Regions from separate parts of the Homo sapiens genome. Here region 2 is linked to region 1. The links are contacts of gene promoters, found by promoter capture Hi-C in blood cells and fetal thymus (Javierre and others, 2016). All regions are on one chromosome and are shown on one strand. Each heading gives the region's core, a stretch centred on a gene start or on the middle of the fragment in contact. The rest is flanking DNA. Distances are from core to core; before and after follow the strand shown.

Evidence for each region. Contacts are between HindIII fragments. The CHiCAGO score rates a contact against its expected background, and 5 or more counts as called.
Region 2: a fragment that was not itself captured here is called in contact with the fragment with the promoter of ATL1 in region 1 in 10 of 17 cell types (total CD8 T cells, endothelial precursors, naive CD4 T cells and 7 more); the score reaches 7.7 in total CD8 T cells.

The regions. Positions count from the first base shown.
Region 1 is chr14:50,558,850-50,563,336 of GRCh38, forward strand. ATL1 (atlastin GTPase 1) reads left to right here and starts at 1,296. Exons shown (of 14, transcript NM_015915.5): 1 at 1,296-1,450. The coding sequence starts at 1,417. It also overlaps a transcript of MAP4K5 not described here. RefSeq lists an enhancer at 1,390-1,889 and a silencer at 1,631-1,990. The HindIII fragment of the contact is 3,968 bases long and covers 1-3,158 here.
Region 2 is chr14:50,869,081-50,873,291 of GRCh38, forward strand. It overlaps ABHD12B (abhydrolase domain containing 12B), which reads left to right and starts at 2,973. Exons shown (of 13, transcript NM_001206673.2): 1 at 2,973-3,198. The coding sequence starts at 3,095. The HindIII fragment of the contact is 165 bases long and covers 2,719-2,883 here.

The DNA.
Region 1 (4,487 bases), core at 46-2,545:
TTTCAACTCTGTTGAGCACAGACTTCTTTAAAACCATGTTGTAAACTTGGTTACAGTGTTCACGACTCTGCAGTCACTAGAACCAGTAACTGAAATATAATGCATAAGATTTGGCAGTGGTGGGGGAGTTTGTTTTCAGATATGTTGATGTTCAAATGTCAGTAGGAAAACAACGTGAGGATAACCTTAGGCAGTTATAAACACACCTCTGGTATAATGTCCTCTCTTCTAGAGGGCAGAAGACTACAAGTATAGATTTGGGAATCATCAGCATGGAGGTCCTGTCTGAAGCCATCATAGTAAATTACATTGAGAGAGTGTAGCGTGAGGAGTTGCTTACCATGAGGAATTAGCAGAGATCATGGATCTGGTAATTAAGAGGCTGGCAGTGATCTCCTAAGAACCGATCAGTACAGAGTGTGAGTAACAACCAAATGGCAGAAGGAAACTGTAAGGGACGGCATGATGGTATCTTGAGGTTGAGGTAGTATAAAGGGACAGTGTTTCCAGGTTACTGAAAACAACTAAGTTTGTAGCAGAGAGAAAGCAGTGAAAAGGGAAAGATTGAAAGTATTTTTATTTTTTTTCTTTTCCTTTCAAAATTGTCTGCAACCTTTATGGCTGCCAGGGCCCACCCATACCCAGACTATGTAGTATGATTTCAGCTCAAATAATTGCTATTGGACTATAGGTCTGGACCTTATCTTTGCAAATCTAGTGGGAAATTTTACCCAGTGGATATTGAGTTACAGATCGTAATGAATCTACAGCTTTCATTTATCTTGATCTTCTTGATATAAATTTTGCTATTCTAATTTTAAGACAAACTACTCAGTATACATATACAAAAATGCATGATACCCTCTTTACTAACATGACCTTGCTTTTAAAATGGAAAAAAAAATGGGTGCCTCGTAGATAAATGCACATTATTTTAGCTACTTTGGCTATATAAATGTTGCCAGCTTGTTTGTACTAATGTATAACCGTGCTTGAAACAGGTATTTGAACATCCAGAATCATGCAGTATATCGGTTTGTGTATTTCTGATAACGCTGTTAAATTCTTTGAGAGTGTGTTCGAGGGGGGTGCTGTTTATTTGTTTGTGTTTTCCGTTGAAAATGTTGCGGTACGTGGTCTATCACTGTCTTCACGGTCTGGGGGTGGACTGAGGTAGGGAGGGTGTGACGCTGGTATCTGTGTGAACTCGGGCTTGTGATGCTGAGCTTGGTTCATCTGCTTTCTCCTCCCTTTTCCTCCCCACTCCTTCCCACCAGCGCCACAGCAACATCCTCAGAGTCTGAGCGAACTGCGCCCAGCGCGGGCACGGAGCCTCCCACCGCCAGCAACCTGCGGCCCCGGAGAAGGCAGCGAGCGCAGTGACAGCGCCTCACCGCCACCAGCTCCTGGACCACCATGGCCAAGAACCGCAGGGACAGAAACAGTTGGGGTGAGTAGCAAATGAGAACTTCTGCAGCCTGCACGGGGTCTTCTGGCCCTCCACTTTCTGCTTCTGTGGAGACAGGGAGGGCCAAGGGCTGCTAGGTGCCTGCGTCCACGGCTGGGAGACGGGCCGTAGCCGAGCCGCTCCCTGTTTGGGCGGAGGAACCATGGCCGAGCGGTACCCGCGTCACCGAATCGCGCTGTCGGGGTGAGGGCTGCAGCTTCGCGCAGGCCGGGCCTCCAGCTCCTTCTTCCCCACCCCCCTCCCGCCTCCTCCCAGCATTTGGACAGCACCCACCAGGCGCCTCCGGGGACTTGTGGGTTCCGCCTTAGCGATCGGTTGGGAGGAAGGCTATGGGGGTGGGCAGGGGGCTGTTGTTACTCGGCCCCAGAGGGGCGAGGGGTCGGGGATCTAGAGCAGGCCAAGCCCCAACCCCCCTCCCCGGGAGCCGCCAACTCGCTGGCTCTGCAGGGCGCGGGCTCCCGGCGGCGGGCGGCGGGCGGCGCGCTGGAACAATGAGGCGGAGCGCGCCGGGTCCCGGACGGACGGTAGCAGACCGAGCAACTGGGAGAAGGGCCACCCTCTTGGGAATTCCTGAGCACTGCAGTACTCCTCTTAATTTGGGGGTTGGGTGGGGGAATTGGGGAAGAAGGAGAGCAAAGTTGTGGTTTCCAGCCTTCTGCCCCACCCCGACGTGGTACCCCATTCAGACCAGCCCCAAGGGTGGCTTTGTTCTTTGATTTTACCTTTTGGAGACATTGGGCTCATGATTCAGCACCAGGCCGAGGGGAGGGGAAAGGAGAGGCGAGACCCAGTATGTTCACACCGCGAGTGGGTGGGCGGTGCTCACGCAGGCGGAGAAGAACGGGCGCAGCGATGCGGAAGAAATCGCGGCCCCGCCCGCCTTGCTGCTCCAGACCTAGTTCTGGACGGTTAGTGTGGGCAGGCTGGGCGTCTTTTTGTCGTAGGTTCCCGATTTCTTGCAGTCACAGTGCTAAACTCACCAGCATCTTAGGAACGAAAGCCCTCTAAGGCATTTATTTTATTATCTGAACCAGAGAATGTCTCAGGCTACTGTGGCTTGGTGGGTAAATAAATATTTTGTTCATCAGCTTGTTATTTAGAAATTGTTATTTGGAAATAACAGTTGTTATTATTTGAAAAGTTCAGAGCTGCTTGATTCTGTTCCACATCTCAGTGAGAGCTCTTCTATAACTGTTTATTTGAGCGAGAGGCACAAATGTAAATTTTAATTGGTTATTTCAGTTTACTTTAATCAAAAGACCGTGTATCTCCTTGCCTCTGATTGTTCTAATGGTCACAGGATACGGTAGACAAGGTTTACATTTGGGAGATTATCCAAGGTTTGTGGTAGGCATGGAGAGTTGGAGCGGGGAGGTCTGTCATGACTTAGCTGAGTTTAAGAGAAAGTGGTTCCATTTTCTGAGATCATGAAACTTCAGTTTTAACAGACCTACCTGACTATTGCAATAAGTTTTATTTCCTTCTTCTGAAATTTAAGTAAGCATTTGCAGTGTATCCCCTTTCCACCCGTTCTCTTGGCCTCTAGAATAGGAATTTATTGAACACACACAATTAGGGTGCGTATATTCAAGTCACTTTTGGTCTCAGTCTCCATGAATTGTTGTCTCCACCCTGTTAACAGAAGCATGTGAAAATGTATTCTGAGGATTAAAATTTTTCTCCTTTATGAAGCTTTGGATCATTATTGCGCAGAATTTCCTTTGGCTATAAACTTTTTTTTTTTTGAGATGGAGTCTTGCTCTGTCGCCTAGGCTGGAGTGCAGTGGTGCCTTCTGGGCTCACTGCAAGCTCCACCTCCCGGGTTCACGCCATTCTCCTGCCTCAACCTCCCGAGCAGCTGGGACTACAGGCGCCTGCCACCGTGCCCGGCTAATTTTTTGTATTTTTAGTAGAGACAGAGTTTCACCATGTTAGCCAGGATGGTTTCGATCTCCTGACCTCGTGATCCGCCCGCCTCGGCCTCCCAAAGTGCTGGGATTACAGGAGCGAGCCACCATTCCCGGCCTTATAAACTTCTTATGTAGTGGGAGTTTTTCCCTCTTGGGAACATGGTTCTCACATCCGGTTTTCATAAAAATCACACAGGGACTTATTAGAAATGCAGACTCTCCCATCTTCCAGCCAGAGCTTTGGAATCAATAGATCTGAAAGAGGGCCTAGAAATCTGCCTTTTAATTAGCATTTTAGGTGATTGGGAAGCAGATGGTCTTTAGGTGTTACTTTGAGAAATACTACCTTAGATTATTTACATTTGATAGAAACATCTCAGATAGTTTACCCAGAAGTCATCAGGAAAGTTTCAACTCAAGTGATGGATTAGGAAAAGAAATACTAGAATCACTATAGTGTTTACTGGAAATTATTATAGAAAAGAAAGAGTGGAATTCTGGACTCTTATCTTGATGTTCTATGGAAATGCTTTACTACTTAGATTTTTCTTTGCTGTTAAGTACATATGACATAAATGACTTAGAAAATGTAGTAGATGGAGTAGGAGATAGAGGTTTTGGCACAGATATTAGCCCTGTCAGTCTTAATTCCATTTTATTACCAGTATCTAATAGAATGCCTAACACAGTAGGCATTTAGTAACAGCAATAGTAGCCAACATCGTTAAGCTAATGTCATATGAAATAGGTGCTGTAATACTCATTTTACATATTAAAAGGTAAAGCTAGTAGATGATTGACCCAGGATTCCTGCTCTGGCAGTTTGAATTCAGATTCCTTTATCTTCTATCTCTTTGTTGAATGGATAATACCTTCTGTATTATATTATAGAACTACAGTTTCAATGCATATTCATCTGCATTATTGCATTTGATCTTCAACCTCTTAAGTATGTGTCTTAGGGCATATCACTATTTTGCAGATGAAAAAACTAACTCAGAGGTGAGTTAAATGATTTGGTGAAAGTCATGTATTTGGTAAGTAAAAGGACTGAAATTAGAATCTGGGTTTTTTTCCTAATTTATTTTCTATAACATGATATTGTGGAA
Region 2 (4,211 bases), core at 1,551-4,050, 310 kb after region 1:
TCCAGAATAGGCAAATGCACAGAGCCAGAAAGTAGATTAGTGATTGCTTAGGGCAGGTGAAGGGAGGAATGGTGAGTGCTAATGGGTATAGGATTTCTCTGGGGGGCTGTGATAAAAATGTTCTAAAGTTATTGTAAATAATAGTGATAGATGCACAACTCTGAGAATATACTAAAATTACTGAGTTGTATACTTTAAAATAGTGAATTTATAGTGTGTGAATTTTATGTCTCATAATGCTTTATTTAAAATAAAAGAAAACACAAGGGGGATGCATACTTTCTTTTCAAGATATCTAGGTCTTCAACACCCAACTGCCTTATTACCAGCAGTTTACCTTCACAGCTGTACAGCAGCTGAGAGGTGGTCAGTCTTATTCCCCATTCCCTGTTTTTCCAGAATAATTTTAGGTGGTCAAATTAATCTGTCTCCAATCAAGATTTATTTTTCTGCTAGTGCAAATAACATTCAACTGTTGGTTTCTGATGTATTTGTACCATCAGCTTTGTCTTAACATTTATACAACATGACATAGGACATGTTCATTTATATAGTTTATCTGTACATTTCTTAGGTCACTTTTCAAAAGTCAGGTTTGTTGAGGTATAATTCATATTCAGTCAAATTCACCTGTGAGTTATATGCATTGGTGGATATTTATAGTAACCACCACCACACTTGAGATGTTGACTATTCCCATCACTCTAAAATGTCCCTTCGCACCCCTTTGTAGTCAACCTCCCCTCCCCACCTCCAGCCCCTGCTATCCCCTGATTTAATCTCTACCCTTAAGACACTTTTCATTTCCTGTTCTGTGTTCTCATGGTTCATCCTGAAATGAATCTCTACCAGCTGGGATCCTGATTTGTATCCCTACGGTGCCCAATGTGGTACCTGGTACCTAAAAGGTGCTCAGTAAATGGGTGCTGAATAAATGAATGCATATTTTGTTTTTCAGGTTCTATCAAATCATATGGGAGACTTTGTTCCCTGATTTCCAGGATGTGCCATTTGAAAGGGGCTATTTATACTGGGAAAGACCTTCTTGCAGAGTCTTATGCAACCTTTCAAAAAATGGGCCATAGTGATTTCCAATTTCAGAGATTTTTGCTGAGCATTTCAAACATATCCCTAGACTTGGGGCTTACAACTTTGTTCATCCAGCAAGTAGATGGAAATATCCTCTCTCAACCTGAGCAAGTAGATGGAAATAGACTCTGGGACCATATGCAGCTGTTCTTCTCTCCTCCAAGCTCTCCTCCCCATCTTTGATCCCTCCATCTCCACTTGGCATGGCCCCAGAGTCCCATCCAGAGCTTCCCTGAACAAGTTCTGGGAGATTCCAGACCACGTTTATGAAGAACTCCAAGGGTAGAGCCGACATCTGCTTGAAGCTTTCTCATCATGCAGGTTGTGGCTCTGTGAAAACCCACCTGCTGCTGGCTCATCAGTCAGGCTTGGATCCCATTGGTCCTTTCTGAGCTAATTCCTCTTCTATCTTGATGTGTGTGAATCAGAAACTGAACATTCCAGCCAGGTGTGGTGACAGAGACCTGTAATCCCAGCACTTTGGGAGGCCGAAGTGGGAGAATTGCTTGAGGCCAGGAGTTTGATAGCAGCCTGGGCAACATAGTGAGATCTCATCTCTATACACACAAGCGTGCGTGCGCGCGCGCACCAGGCATAGTGGTGCATGCTTGTAGTCCCAGCTACTTGGGAGGCTGGAGTGGAAGGATTGCTTGAGTCCAGGAGTTCAAGTGAGTTCAAGTACAGTGAGCTATGATTGCACCACTGCACTCCAGCCTCAGTGACAGGGTAAGACCATGACAAGAAAGAAAGAAAGAAAGAAAGAAAGAAAGAAAGAAAGAAAGAAAGAAAGAAAGAAAGAAAGAAAGAAAGAAAGAGAAAGAAAGAAAGAAAGAAAGAAAGAAAGAAAGAAAGAAAGAAAGGAAGGAAGGAAAGAGAAAGAAACAAAGAAAACAAACATTCCCAGAGCAAGTATAAGAGTATTAACAGGCAGTGAACAAAATCCCCCTTTGCCCTGACAGTTCCATGAAATGAGCTAGTACTCAAAGAAAACTTCCCTTTCTTGAAAAGTGTGGGTATTTTCCCCCAGACCATCTTACTATCCTCAAGCAGATGGGTTTCCACGCACTTTCTGGTGCTGACAGCCCCCTGCTGTGCCCTCTGAACACAGACACTACAAAAAACCCATTTCACCTCTTAAGATTTGCACCTTGCCTCCAAGATGAAGCCTTGATGCTGGCATCCGAATGTATCCAAATAAAACCTAATTCCCTTTCTTCCTCCTTTGTCCCCACACATGCAGGCCGTGGCTTCCCTAGAGTAGCTCTGGTAGACAGTTCCTGCTCCTAGGAGACAGTTGCACAATGTAAACCTGCACCAAGATGTAAACCTGTACCAAGGTCAAAGTTTCAAGGTGTGAACTCCTTGGTACAATGATGAGGTTCTGCTACATGCTGCTACGTAAACAAAATACCGAAAAGGTCTTAATTTTTTGCTACATGGAGTAATTGTGTTCATAACCCCACGTGGACAGACAAATCATTAGTAAATCAAAGGGAGCCAAAGAAATTCTTTCTATAGTAAGGGTGACAGGGTGGGGGGCTGTGAGGATTTTGGGGGTGGATGGGGAATTGGAGACAAGGAGGCTTCAGAAAAAGAGAAAAAGAAAAAAGTGAGGTTTAAGTAGAGGAAAGCTTATATTCTTCATGAAAATCAAAAGCTGTGGCGGTCAAACTTTTGTGTTAGTAGTACCATGGTGAAAACATATTTTACTGCGTTGCGCGCGCCTCACACCCACACACACACAGAAGTATAATGGAAATCAATTTAAAATAAAATGTAGCATAGCTAGCTATAAGCTTAGGACATCTGTGTGTGTGTGTGTGGCCGCGAACAGCCTGACCCGGGCGGAGCGCACCCTCGGGCCGCGTCTCCCCCGCCGTACCAGCCTGCCTGACCGCGCGGAGGAGGAGGGCGGGCGCGGTGCCGCCGGGGCGGGAAGGTCGCGGGCGGCTGCTCCGGACTGCAGCTCCCGCGGCGGTGGCGGCGTATCGGGACACGGCGCGGGATGGACGCGCAGGACTGCCAGGCGGCCGCATCGCCCGAGCCGCCCGGGCCCCCAGCCCGTAGCTGCGTGGCCGCCTGGTGGGACATGGTCGACCGCAACCTGCGGTGAGTACCGCCCGGTCCACCCCTGGCCGGGCCCCGACGGCTCAGGCTGCGCGGGGATGGGGCAGGGGGCCAGGGCGCGGCCGAGGCCGCAATCCCCTCTGCTGGCCCGGGCCCAAGGCCCAGCATTGTGGCTTCCGGGGGACCTCGGCGGCCCCCTGAGAACTCTAGGGCTCTTTGGTTGCCCTTGCTATCCTCAGCCTCAATCCCAACCTGGACCAGCGAGACTCTCAGGTTTGGTATTTCAGGAAGTTATAACTTTTGGGGGCTTCTGAAATACAGATGCCAGGGAGATGGTTGAATTCCTACACCAATCTCTATTATCTGACCATTTTGCTAACATACAAGATGGATCTGAATGACATTAGTAATAGTGACAATAGTAATATATGTTGTAATCTTGGACGGGATCCTCTTAGGTCAAGGGCCTATCTGTGTAGGTGGAAAAGAATCAGAAAATCCGTGCCTAGTTCCCTGAGTGTGAACTCCCTGGCATGTATTTAAAGAAAACACCTCCAGTATGCTAAAGATGTACATAGTGTGTTGAAACCATAACTTGGCATTACCTGTGCCAAGTTCTTATGTTGTTTAAGTCTGAAATGTATCAGTGGGTGTTTCGGGTTTTGTTTCTGTTTTCTTCCTCCCATGGATCCTCGGTTTAAACAGTAATCTTAAATTACCTGAATCCACCTGCAACATATTGTCAGTCTTGTTTGCACTGAAGCCAGGTATTGGTTGGAGATCGTGGACCCAGGACACGTGGGTATTTCATTTAGTTTTGTTGGTGTGGGAAGGTATTGGCATTTTTACTTCCCTCTTTCTATTCCTTTTGTTTAATTTGTGCTGATTAGAAAATATCCAAAAATTACATCCAGACACAGGAGACCTCACTTTGGAGTGCCCAGAGTGATGATGACAAACGGGGATCTTTTCTCTCTCTCTCTCTCTTTTTTTTTTCTTTTTTGAGACAAGGGTTTCACTCTGTTGCCCAGGCTGGAGTGCAGTGGCACAATCTT